Linked DNA regions of Homo sapiens: all the other regions are linked to region 1. Evidence: promoter capture Hi-C in 16 types of primary human blood cells and fetal thymus (Javierre and others, 2016). All regions are on one chromosome and are shown on one strand. The core of a region is centred on a gene start or on the middle of the fragment in contact, and the rest is flanking DNA. Distances in the headings are between cores, read along the strand shown. Region 1 holds the start of MED28 (mediator complex subunit 28). Region 2 has its middle 38 kb from the start of LCORL. Region 3 overlaps LCORL (ligand dependent nuclear receptor corepressor like).

Region 1 (3,934 bases), core at 546-3,045:
GCCAGTCACTACAGTCCAGATCTCCTTGGAGAGGCCTCCTCCAATCACCTATCTCAAAGAACACCCCTCTCACTAGCCATCCCCTTACTGGGTTTCATTTTCCTTCCCAGCTCTTCTCTCTGCACAATATTGCTATGTATTTATGTGCTTGTCTGTCTCCTTCCAGAGATTTGGGATGATTGCTATAACCTCCAGATCATTAAATAGTGCCTGGGAAGTGGAGCGCTCAGTAAGTGTGCTGGGTAATAACTGTAAAATCAGATATAATGAAAAAAAGTTATTTGGTTTTAAAGAGATAAATAAGAAGGTTGGGCACGGTGGCTCACGCCTGTAATCCTAGCACTTTGGAAGACCGAGGCGGGCGGATTGTCTGAGCTCAGGAGTTCGAGACCAGCCTGGGCAACAAGGTGAAACCCCGGCGCTACTAAAATACAGAAAAACTAGCCGAGCGGCGGGCGCCTGTAGTCCCAGCTACTCGGAAGGCTGAGGCAGGAGAATTGCTTGAACCCAGGAGGCGGAGGTTTCAGTGAGCCGAGATCGCGCCACTGCATTCCAGCCTGGGCGACAGAGCGAGACTCCGTCACCAAAAAAAAAGAGAGAGATAAGCAAATGTTAAAAGCAGGTTACTACAAGATTAGCAGCCTAGTGCCGGGCGCGGTGGCTCACGCCTGTAATCTCAGCACTTTGGGAGGCCGAGTCGGGCGGATCACGAGGTTAGGAGATCGAGACCATCCTGGCTAACACGGTGAAACCCCATCTCTACCAAATATACAAAAAATTAGCTGGGCGTGGTGGCGGGCGCCTGTAGTCCCAGCTACTCGGGATGCTGAGGCAGGAGAATGGCGTGAACCCGGGAGGCGGAGCTTGCAGTGAGCCAAGATCGCGCCACTGCACTCCAGCCTGGGCGACAAAGCGAGACTCTGTCTCAAAAAAAAAAAATTAGCAGCCTGGCGCCTTGGCTCATTACTGTATTCCCAACACTTTGGGAGGCCGCGGCGGTAGAATCACTTGAGCTCAGTAAAACACCTGACTCAACTAAAAAAAAAAAAAAAAAAAAAAAAAAAAGCCCGTCGCGACTGCACGCACCTGTGGTCCTAGCTACTTGGGTGGCTGAAGTAGGGGGATTGTTTGAGCCCGGGAGGTCGAGCCCTGATCATGACACTGCACTCCGGCCAGGGCGACAGAACGAGACCCTGAGAAAAAAGAAAAGAAAGAAAAAAAAAGATTAGCATAGTGACTTTCTCTTTGATGTAACCATAAATATTTAAAGACATCAGTGCCGGGCACATTGGGAACCTCAACAAAGTTGTTTCCGTTATCCATCTCCGACCAGAATTCAGGAAGAACTTTGCCTGTCTTGTTCCCGCTATAACCAATGACTCAACAAATGTTTGTGGAGTGAGTGGGTGACCCTCTCCTTTTACCAACGGTAAACAGCCCGCGGAAAGAAAAAGTGACTTAGCCAAAGTCTCTCCAGGCATTTGGGGCAGAGTCGGGACTAGCATAGTAGTATCCTGACTCTCGCAGGAGGGCTCGCTCCACTGTAGTTATTAATTCTCCTCTCCACACAACCAGGTCTAATCCGGCCAAAGTCTTCAATTCTTAAGCTAAGAAAAAAGGAAAATACATGTAAACTCTGTTTTGCGATAGACAAGAAAACAGAAGAATTAAAAATCCTCCTTCCGGGGTGCACCAGAATCCTCCCATCGCTCGGTCCTGTCACGTGACCACGCCTACTACACCAGCCACGTGAGCTTCTGAGCCGGCTTCCGCGCAGGCGCAGTGGATCTCTCTTGCGCCATTCCAAACATGGCGGCTCCACTAGGGGGTATGTTTTCTGGGCAGCCACCCGGTCCCCCTCAGGCCCCGCCGGGCCTTCCGGGCCAAGCTTCGCTTCTTCAGGCAGCTCCAGGCGCTCCTAGACCTTCCAGCAGTACTTTGGTGGACGAGTTGGAGTCATCTTTCGAGGTAATATAAGACATGGGCGTCTTTGTCCCTAGCCTTCCCTTTTTTCTGAAACGTGAACTGCGCGTACGCGTATCTCCTCCAGGGATCCGAGCAACTAATTCACAAATGGGGAAACTGAGGCTTAAAGTAAGTCACTTGCTTTAGGCTTCCCCGTGGCCCGTATTCAATTCAGGTCTGCTGGCGGGGGCGCGTAAACTCGACGTTTGTGGAAACGTGAACCCGAAGTTTGCCTAAACCCCAAACTTGGAACCCTTCCAGATTCCCAGCCGGTCCTTAGTCTCATCCCCGAGCACCGTTTCTTGCATCCCTGCATGTTTAGTAAGAGGCTCAAGCCTTTTCGGAGCTGAGAGTTTCACTGCTGTATCCTGTATCCTTTCCGCTGGGCTTCACCTTTAAACGATCCTAAAGGGACTCTTAAGAGCGGAAATTGACTTAAGTTACCAGGCGCAGCTTGGTACTAAGAGCTGAGGAAGGAGGAATGCTGGAGGTTAGGGAGGGAGGGAGGCACAGGTGACCCAATCTCTCAGTTTTGCCCAAGGAGTTTACCTTGTAGCAAGAAAGGTGAACTGTATATTGAGGGAAGATAGAGAGGTGAAAATAAGTGCTCTGGTGATTTCCAGTAGTCTTTAAAGTGGAAGATGAGCTATTCCTGTGTAGTAATAAAGTAATGTACGTTCAAATTGGAGTTAACTTTTCCACATTTTAAATCCCAGTTTTGCCGGGCGCGGTGGCTCACGCCTGTAATCCCAGCACTTTGGGAGGCCGAGGCTGGCGGATCATGAGGTCAGGAGTTCGAGACCAGCCTGACCAACATGGTGAAACCCTGACTCTACTAAAAATACAAAAATTAGCCAGGCGTGGTGGCGTGCGCCTGTAATCCCAGGTACTCGAGAGGCTGAGGCAGGAGAATCGCTTGAACCTGGGATGCGGAGGTTGCAGTGAGCGGAGACCGCGCCATTGCACTCCAGCGTGGGTGACAAGAGCTCGACTCCGTCTCAAAAAAGTAAAATAAAATATAAATAAATAAAAATCCCAACTTTGTGACTTTTGTATTGTATCTAATAGCACAGTGGTAAATGAATATAATTTGCAAGCGATTATTCAGACTGCATGGACAAAATGCTTTTACCACACGGATGTACAAAGATTTAGAAATAAATGATTTGAGATGGAGTCTCACTCTCTCGCCCAGGCTGGAGTACAGTGGCGCAATTTCGGCTTACTGCAACCTCCGCCTCCCGGGTTCAAGCGATTTTCCTGCCTCAGCCTCCCGAGTTGCTGGGATTACAGGCACCTGCCACCATGCTATTTTTTTTATTTTTTAGTAGAGACAGGGCTTCACTATCTTGGCCAGGCTGGTCTCGAACTCCTGACCTCGTGATCCACCCGCCTCGGCCTCCCAAAGTGCTGGGATTACAGGCGTGAGCCACTGCGCCTAGCCAGAAATAAATGATTTAAAGGACAGACCGTTTAGGAGGAGGAGGAGGAGACACCTTTGAGGTGGTGCTAAGTGGTAAAGGAAGGGGCTGGTGAACTTTAGAGCAGCATCTAGCATTGTGCTTGAGGGGAGCTGGCTCTCAGTCATGGGCACTTGCTGAAAGACTGGCCCTGTACAAGTCTTAGCCAAAGTTGACTCCCAGCACCCTGCTGCTTAAAAACGTACAGTGGCTGCTTGTTGCCCTTGAGATAAGATCAAGATGTTTAGTGTGGTCTCCCAGGCTTTGCATGTTGCGTTCTCTCCTTCAGACTCGTTTCCTTACTGCAGCCACACAAGACTTTCCCACGTGTACCATTTGTTTTCTCTTTGGGCTTCCAGGCCGCTCCTCAGCTCACTGCATCACTTCCTCAGTGGACCCTTCCCTGGCCTTCTTTTTAATACTTACCATTAAATTCGGCTCCATGAAGTCAGAGACTACCTGTTTTGTACCCCCACCCCTCACATTGTGTAACCTGTAGTGCTAATACA
Region 2 (3,934 bases), core at 1,018-3,517, 450 kb after region 1:
AAAAACAAAACAAACCAAAACCAAAACCAAAACTTCCTGCTGGTTACTATTTTGGAAGCCTGTGGTTTCTTTGTAGTTCAAAGTATTACTTGTAGTTTGCACCCCAAAGCTTGGGATTCTCAAATTGACACAGAAGACCAGATTTTCCTTTTGACGAAGCTGTTTTTGAGACAGGATACAAAAGTTCCTTTATTTTTGCAACTGCTCTGAAAATCTTACAAAATATTATAATATTTAAGGTTAGGTGATCCAGAAAACAAACAAAAACATCTTATATTTTTCATGAACTAAAAACTAGTTCTGCTACTGTTGTACAAAATGATAAAATCTTTCCAGTTAACTCCTCAATAAAAAGAAACAGCTTTTGAATTAAGGTTTTAAAAAAATCTATATTATCTTGGGCCAGAAGAAAACAATGGCAGACCAGGGAGATGATAACTGCGCAAGAGATGTGTGAAACAGCAAAGAGAATCATGTCAGCCCCCTCGGGCTCTTCTTTCCATCCCCCTCCACACAAATACCTCATCACTAGGACACTTTTGACTGAAAGAAAATGCTATTAAAATTGTATATTTTTTAATTTTTAATTTATATCTGGTATATATTGGTCAGTCTGCCCCTAAAAAACAGGAGTAGGGTTCAGTAAGGTACATTTTAGAACAGTTAAAGAATTTTTAAAATTCCTCTTCCACTCTCACAGTTGAGCTTTGACTACCTGTATTAGCAAAATGGTATGCAAATTTAGTTGCTTTCTTGTTCAAAGACAGCAAGAATAAGAAATGCCTTTCAGTATGTGTTAGAGTGATACTTCCATTAACCCTTGTGTTTTAGCTCTTTCAAATGTCTCAGCATTATAGATAAGTGGTTGACAGAAGGAAGTCTTGCCAAATATGCAAATGAGAGAAACAATTACAATAAAAGGTTATTTTATATAAAAATGAATGTATTCTATTTCTTAAGGGAAATAAAAAGGAAGTTCAATTTAAAAAGATATTTTTATAAGAATTAATATGAATATATATTTTCAAAGTATTTAACATCTTTCCCCAGTTGCTTTTCATGAATCTCACCATTGCTTGGTACTGTACTTTTTGTTCCATTTAATTAATTTTTTTCTGTGTTGCTATTTCTCACTGGTTAATAATTGGCAAATTTATAAAAAAATTAAAATGACCTTAAAAAGATAAAAATTTATAAAAGAAGAACATTTATTTTAAAAGATGCAAAGCTGACTATTCTGTAGATTAAAAAACAGAGATTTTTCTCCCTCATGAAATGAAGGATATACTGAGCGTATTAGTCAGCATTCTCCAAGCAGACAAAACCAATAGGATATATCTATTAATGTATTTGTCTGTCTCTATCTCTCATCTCTCTTTATGTCTATCTATAGATAAATATGTTAGGGAAAATTTATTAGGGGAATTGGCTCATGTGATTATGGAGGCTGAGAAGTTCCAAGACAGCCCTCTGCAAGTTGGATGCTGGAAGCATGGCTCAGTCCAAGTTTGAAGGTCTAAGAACCTGTGGGGGCCACTGATATAAGTCCTAAAGTCCAAAGGCTGAAGAGCCTGGGTTTCTGATGTACGAGGGCTGGAGAAGAAGAGTGTATCCTGGCTCAAGAAGAGAGAGGGATCAATTTGCCTTTCCTCTGTTTTCATTCTGTCAGGGCTCCCAGTTATTTGGATCATGTCTGCCTATATTGAGGGTGGATCTTCTCCACGTAGTCCACTCACATTCACATGCCAATCTCCTCCAGAAGCAACCTCACAGACACACTCCTTAAAATAATACCAGTTATCTAGCTATTTCTTAATTCAGTCAAGTTAATACCTGAAATTAATCATCACACTGAGATTTCTACAGAAGATTCCAAAAGCACCCAGGAAAATAATTCATTATTTTTAAATTTAAAAAATACACAAAGTGAGATTTAATACCCAGAAAAATGGCTGACACAATAACATAAATACAGATTCCCCTCTTTTTAAGAATTTAAGGATGCTAGAACTGACAGACTATATTTAGAACATTTTAGATATTGAAAGAATAAGGAAAGCAGCTGGTAAAGTTTAAAGAATATAGTTGGAACTACACTTTTCAAGCTTTTAGATGGCTCACTTGGTTTTTATTTATGAAAAATTATATATTATTTAAAACTTTGTACTCTACTTGAGGACAAACAAAATAGTCAATTCTTGTTATTCATGGTAAAGTTCTGTAAACATCGAGTTAGCAAATACAAAACTATTACTCCCGGGAAATACAGGATTAGGTTCCTGAAAGCCTCTGGTCACATTTTCATCAGTTGATCAATACATAACATTGTTGTATGTTCATTTCTGTTTAAAAACACCCCATTTAATATACATTGCTAGTTCATTAACATTGAACTCAGTGGCTGACAGTACTATAACTCATGTCTGAATGAAGCTTCGCTAACATACCTGTCTTCTCTGTGAGGCACATCACAACCTCCTTGCACTTAGAAACACTAGACAACACTTCAGTACTATGCTTGGGGACCATATTAAACAAGGAGATTACAAAAAAAAAAAAAAAAAGCACAAAAATCGGCACTAAATAGACCACTAAAAAGACACATTTATAGTATGACAGCTGAAAAAGAAGACAGAGATTCACCTTGTTCAACTTCAGCTGGAAATGTGTGACTCAAATTTTCACTGATCTGTGCATTCCCACAAATGACAATGAAAGTGCTTGGGGATTCCAAATTAATTTTAGGGAGTAGGCTAATTTGAAAATATGGAATCATGAATAAAATGAGATTGTATCTTGTTCACCTTTGTGTCACTACTGTCACTACTGATTGTAATATTTTCTGTCATGTGGTAGTAGTTCAATATATATGCATATATATATTGAATAAATGGAAATAGTGTTCCTTAATTTTTAAATGAACCCCATTGTATAGTCCTATTTTGTTTTACGCTCTTGAGAAGTTTGTGATAGTCTGTAAATATTCAGTTAGTTTTCAAATACAAACATTTTATAATAATATAAATGCTTGTTTTGTTAGGCTTACATTTCCCTTTGGAACTTTGAAGATATTGCTCCCTTACCTTTGGCATTTAAAATTAATACAAATTCTGATGCCACTATAAATCTCAGTCTTTTGTGGTATTAATGCCCCTCCCCTCCCTACTTTGGAAGCTTTTAGGATATTTTCTTTTGCTTGAAATTCTGAAAATTTATAATAGGTATTTATACTCCTTATAATATGTACATTAGACTCTGGAATGTTCATATCTTTTATCAATTTGGGGAAATTTTCTTCTTTTATTTCTTTGGTTGTTTCTTCTCCATTCTTTGTTATTATTTCTGAAAAATCCTATTAAATATGTTCTAAACTTCTGAATCCAGTTGAAGTATTTCCTGAAGTTTTGAAAATACATTCCTCTTTGTCCTTTTATACAGTGTTCTGGGAGTGTAAGTTGACTTACATTTCCAACTAACATATTTATTTTCAGCCATATTTATTACACTATTCAGTCCATCATTTGAAAAATTATATACATCTTAATTTTGAATTAAGTTTTATAAATGGCATGAAGGGTACACCTTCATTCTTTTGTGTGTGGATATCTAGTTGTCCCAGCACCATTTGTTGAAATGACTATTCTTTTCCCATTCAATAGTCTTGGCACCCTTGTCAAAAATCAGTTGATCATAAATGTAAGGGTTTATTTCTGGACTCTTAATTCTATTTCGTTGATCTGTATGTCTTTCCTTACATCAGTACTACACTGTCTTGGTTACTGTCGTTTTGTTTGAAGTTTTGATATCAGGAACATTTCCAACTTAGTTCTTTTTTAAGATTGATTTGACTTTTCTAGGTTCCTTACATGTTCATATAGATTTCAGAATCAGCTTATCAATTTCTGCAAAAAAAAAAAAAGGCAGCTAGGACATT
Region 3 (3,934 bases), core at 436-2,935, 390 kb after region 1:
AGGATCTGTGGGCTCAGACTGTTAAGAGTGAAAAGTTAGACAAGCAAGCTAATATGTACTCATAGGCAAATTCTATTCTATTTATGTGCTATGCCAGAACACAAATACTAAAAGGTTAAGAAAGCAAAGAAGAAAAAAGTAATTATTGGGCTGATCCCAAAAGAGTAGTATGTAAAAAAAATACAGGATTTTACCAAGAAACTACTTTTCCATACCCTAAATTGGCACAGATAAGTACAAGGAAAGGAAGGTTAAAATGAAACAATTAGCTATATCCTATTAATTCATCTGCCATTCTTGAGGAAAGTTCAAAAGAGATGGAAAGGTATTGCTCATCATTCTTAGAATTAGGATAGAAGGTAACTTTATATCCAGACTAAAACTTAACACTGCAAGTCTGTGCCATGGAAAAGCCTTGCCCACTAACTCCATGTTCTCATCATCAGTTGTAAAAGCAAGAAAAAAATTAGTGGATATTTTCTCTGATTAATCCATCACAGGGGAATCCTTATCTCTGACACTGTGCATTCAAATACAGAAGTCCCGGTTCTCTCTCACTCCAGGACAGGAATAAAAGGCTGAGGAGGCCTAAACCCAGAATACTTTTTCCCACCCCTGAAACTCAAGTTCTAAAATAAAATGAAAACAGCACTACTAAAGTTTTAGATGTAACAATCTGACCAGAAAGGATGAGACTTGCTAATTTTTAAATGAGGTTTGACCTGGTATAGTGGTTAAGACTGGATGTGAATTCTACTTTTGAATTTGCTAGGCAGAAAGACTTGGGCAAGTCACTTAGCCTCTCTAAGCCTGAATTTTCTCATTTGTAAAATGAAGATAAAAATTGTACTATTTCATATGGAAAATTATATGTGATAATACATATAAAAACTTAGAATCTGCCTAACACACGGTAAGCACTCAATAAATATTATCTATCATTATTTCAAGGGGCAATTCTTGGTGCTGGAAAATCTGTAAGACAACATGTATATTACTAACTATGGTAGTTAGGGCTGAAAGTGATTAATTCACAAGAACATACGTAGACTAATGACACTGTTTTTAAATACTTTTATGTTTTAACAATCTTTAACTTAAAAGTTTTAAGTATAGTAAGGAAGACCTTTATCTTCCCAACCATTTGAGAGTAAATGTCTACATAATGACCCACCACTCTTGAATTCCTAGTATTTCCCAATTCTCTCACAAAAACAACCATTAAAATCAGGAAATTAACGGTAATACACTATGCTCACTGCTACCGTACTGCCACTGCTCCTAAGCCCCTTCTCAATGACCAGTATAGGGCATGTGTATGTATACATACACATACATTTCTATATCTATATATGATGAAAACCATGAGTTCGCACAAGTACTTCATTTCCTATCCAACACTACAGACAGCATTCTAATTTTCCCTACTTTCATATTAGTAAATCCCTTCTCAGACAATGAGAAGCCTGGCTCCCATTATTCTTAATACTGATCAATCTTCATGTACGTAACCAATCTCCCACTGTAGCTGTCTCTTTCCCTACACGGACACCCTCCTCACCTCTCTTGGCCCCAAAATCCCTACCCCATGTATATAATCTCCTTACCCTGTTCAGGTCCCTATTCCTCATGCCTGGCATCCCTCCTACAAGAATATCCTCCCTACCCTGCTCAGGCTATGAAATCCCATATTGTACCGAGCTCCACTGAGAGGCCTTCCTCCCTTTACCCTCAGGCTCTAATACCTTGGACTCAGATACCTCTATGTATGGACTCCCTCCTCATCTCACTTGAGCCTTAATATACCTACACCAGGCTGCAATCCTACATGGGTCACTCCCTACCCCCTGGTATCTACTGGGGCCCTGAGAGCTCATGCAGGATGACATCCCACCCCAAGTAGATGTCCTCCTTGCTGGGACCAGCTGACCTTCCCCCATACCAGGCCACTCTCCTTCACAGATACCATATCACCCTGCTTGGGCTCCAATACCCTGCCTTAGCATGCCTTCCAATGGAGAGGTGCTCCTTACCCTTCATTCCATCAACCCCCATGGACACCCTCCTCACCCTATAAGGTTCTGAGATCCCACTCCTCTTACATGACGATGTGGCTCTGCCTCCCACGCACCCCACCCAGTGTGGATACCTACCCTTGTTTTCTCCCACTTGATGTTTTAGTACTGAGCTGTTCAGAAAGGGAGGAGGAAGAAGACATTGAAGAACAATTAATTATATTTTAAAAAAAGAGACACCAGTGAATAAACTGTGTAAGCACCTATAATCAGAGCTAATTAAAACAACAATCTATTTGTCAGAGTACCTGCTTTTTTTCCATGTAAACAGTGCTCTATTCTTTTACACTAATTCCTTCTAAGTTTAAAAAGTTAATTGAAAATTATAATACAGAAGAGAGCACTGGGTTTCCTTCTAACCAAACATGCATTTTACTTAAGTATCTTACATAGGCCTGTGGAAAATCTAGTTAATTTAAAAAGAAGAAAAAACCCTACTAATTTTATTTTGAGAGTTTAAAAAATACAGTTGTTCCAAACACTAAAATATACATAAATGTGTGTATGGGTACATATATATATGTGTGTGTGTCTGTGTGTGTGTGTGTATATATATATGTATGTATGTATATATGTATGTATGTGTGTATATATATATATTTGAGATGGAGTCTTGCTCTGTTGCCCAGGCTGGAGTGCAGTGGCATGATCTCGGCTCACTGCAACCTCCGCCTCCCGGGTTCAAGCGATTCTCCTGCCTCAGCCTCCTGAGCAGCTGAGATTACAGGCACCTGCCACCACGCCTGGCTAATTTTTGTATTTTTAGTACAGACAGGGTTTCTGTACATGTTGGCCAGGCTGGTCTTGAGCTCCTGACCTCATATGATCTGCCTGTCTCAGCTTCCCAAAGCGCTGGGATTACAAACGTGAGCCACCGGGCCCGGCCATAACATATTTTTTAAAATATCCAGAACAAGTAAATTTGACTTGTTTTCAGAATATTAACAGTTGTATTGTTTCCAGTATACTTACCCCCAGATACAACCCTGCAAAAATTAACAGCCATGATTGTTACAATACCTTTCCCTTGCTCCTGGTTTCTATGAGGAAGGATGCATCAAAAGCACAACCTGAGCCTCTTTTTACCCTTAGCTAGTAAAGTGAATTATCCGATTGGTGATTCTGGATTTGAGGAAGAGCTCAGTTCTATTCCTCTTGCCCCTGGGGTTGAGCTTTCAAAGGAGAACAAACCTCCAAAGACTCATATTCAGCTCTGCTTCTCTACTGAGCCTAGGACTGGATGGATAAGTCAGCCTATGCCAGACCACCTGACTCCCCCATCAAGCTATTCCTCTAACCTGGCCTGTATCGGTAATAGAAAGATTATTTTGGCTTCCATCTTTCTCCTTGTTTTATTTCTCAAGTTGTTCAGAGCCCAAGCAGAATGTCTTAATACATTCAAGTGAATGAAGACTGCTCATTTTCCCAGTTTTGATTTAAAAGGGCTGCTTTAATTTGAGCTTCTTAAAACTATTGCAAACAAAAAGCCCTCAAACCTGCACCAACAACAGATGTTCCAAATGAAAATAAGCTGACTTATCTGATCATGCTTATTACCCATTTTAAAAAAAAAAAAAAAACAACTTCAAAGGCTTACAATTTCCTCCTTGTAGAAGCTATAATTTATACTTCCAGTCCTACTTTCTGCTGCTAACCTATAAACCAATGGCACTGTAATGCTAAATATTTTCAGAATATATCATTATTTATACTTAAATATATTTGCTTATACTATCTCTGCCCATTCCCTCCACTCTACTTTCCTGCTGTATCCTTTATCCCAGAGATCAGCAAACTATGGTTTATAGGCCAAATCCACCTATTTTTATAAATAAATGTTACTGAAACGCAGCCATGCT

Evidence for each region. The method cuts DNA at HindIII sites, captures the fragments that hold promoters and counts their contacts. A CHiCAGO score of 5 or more calls a contact.
Region 2: a contact is called between a fragment that was not itself captured here and the fragment with the promoter of MED28 in region 1, in 1 of 17 cell types (total B cells). The highest score is 5.7, in total B cells.
Region 3: a contact is called between a fragment that was not itself captured here and the fragment with the promoter of MED28 in region 1, in 2 of 17 cell types (fetal thymus and neutrophils). The highest score is 5.4, in fetal thymus.

What each region holds. Positions count from the first base shown.
Region 1 is chr4:17,612,846-17,616,779 of GRCh38, forward strand. It overlaps MED28 (mediator complex subunit 28), which reads left to right and starts at 1,796. Exons shown (of 4, transcript NM_025205.5): 1 at 1,796-1,968. The coding sequence starts at 1,810. It overlaps MED28-DT (MED28 divergent transcript), which reads right to left and starts at 1,735. Exons shown (of 3, transcript NR_186331.1): 1 at 1,297-1,735; 2 at 1,087-1,193. RefSeq lists enhancers at 1,141-2,340, 1,446-1,735, 1,836-1,945. The HindIII fragment of the contact is 7,436 bases long and covers 1-1,886 here.
Region 2 is chr4:18,057,553-18,061,486 of GRCh38, forward strand. No RefSeq gene overlaps it. Among named protein-coding and RNA genes, the nearest start is that of LCORL, 38 kb to the left of the region's middle. RefSeq lists an enhancer at 1-102. The HindIII fragment of the contact is 328 bases long and covers 2,104-2,431 here.
Region 3 is chr4:18,007,791-18,011,724 of GRCh38, forward strand. All of the region lies in intron 1 of LCORL (ligand dependent nuclear receptor corepressor like), which reads right to left. Among named protein-coding and RNA genes, the nearest start is that of LCORL, 12 kb to the right of the region's middle. The HindIII fragment of the contact is 5,084 bases long and covers 1-3,934 here.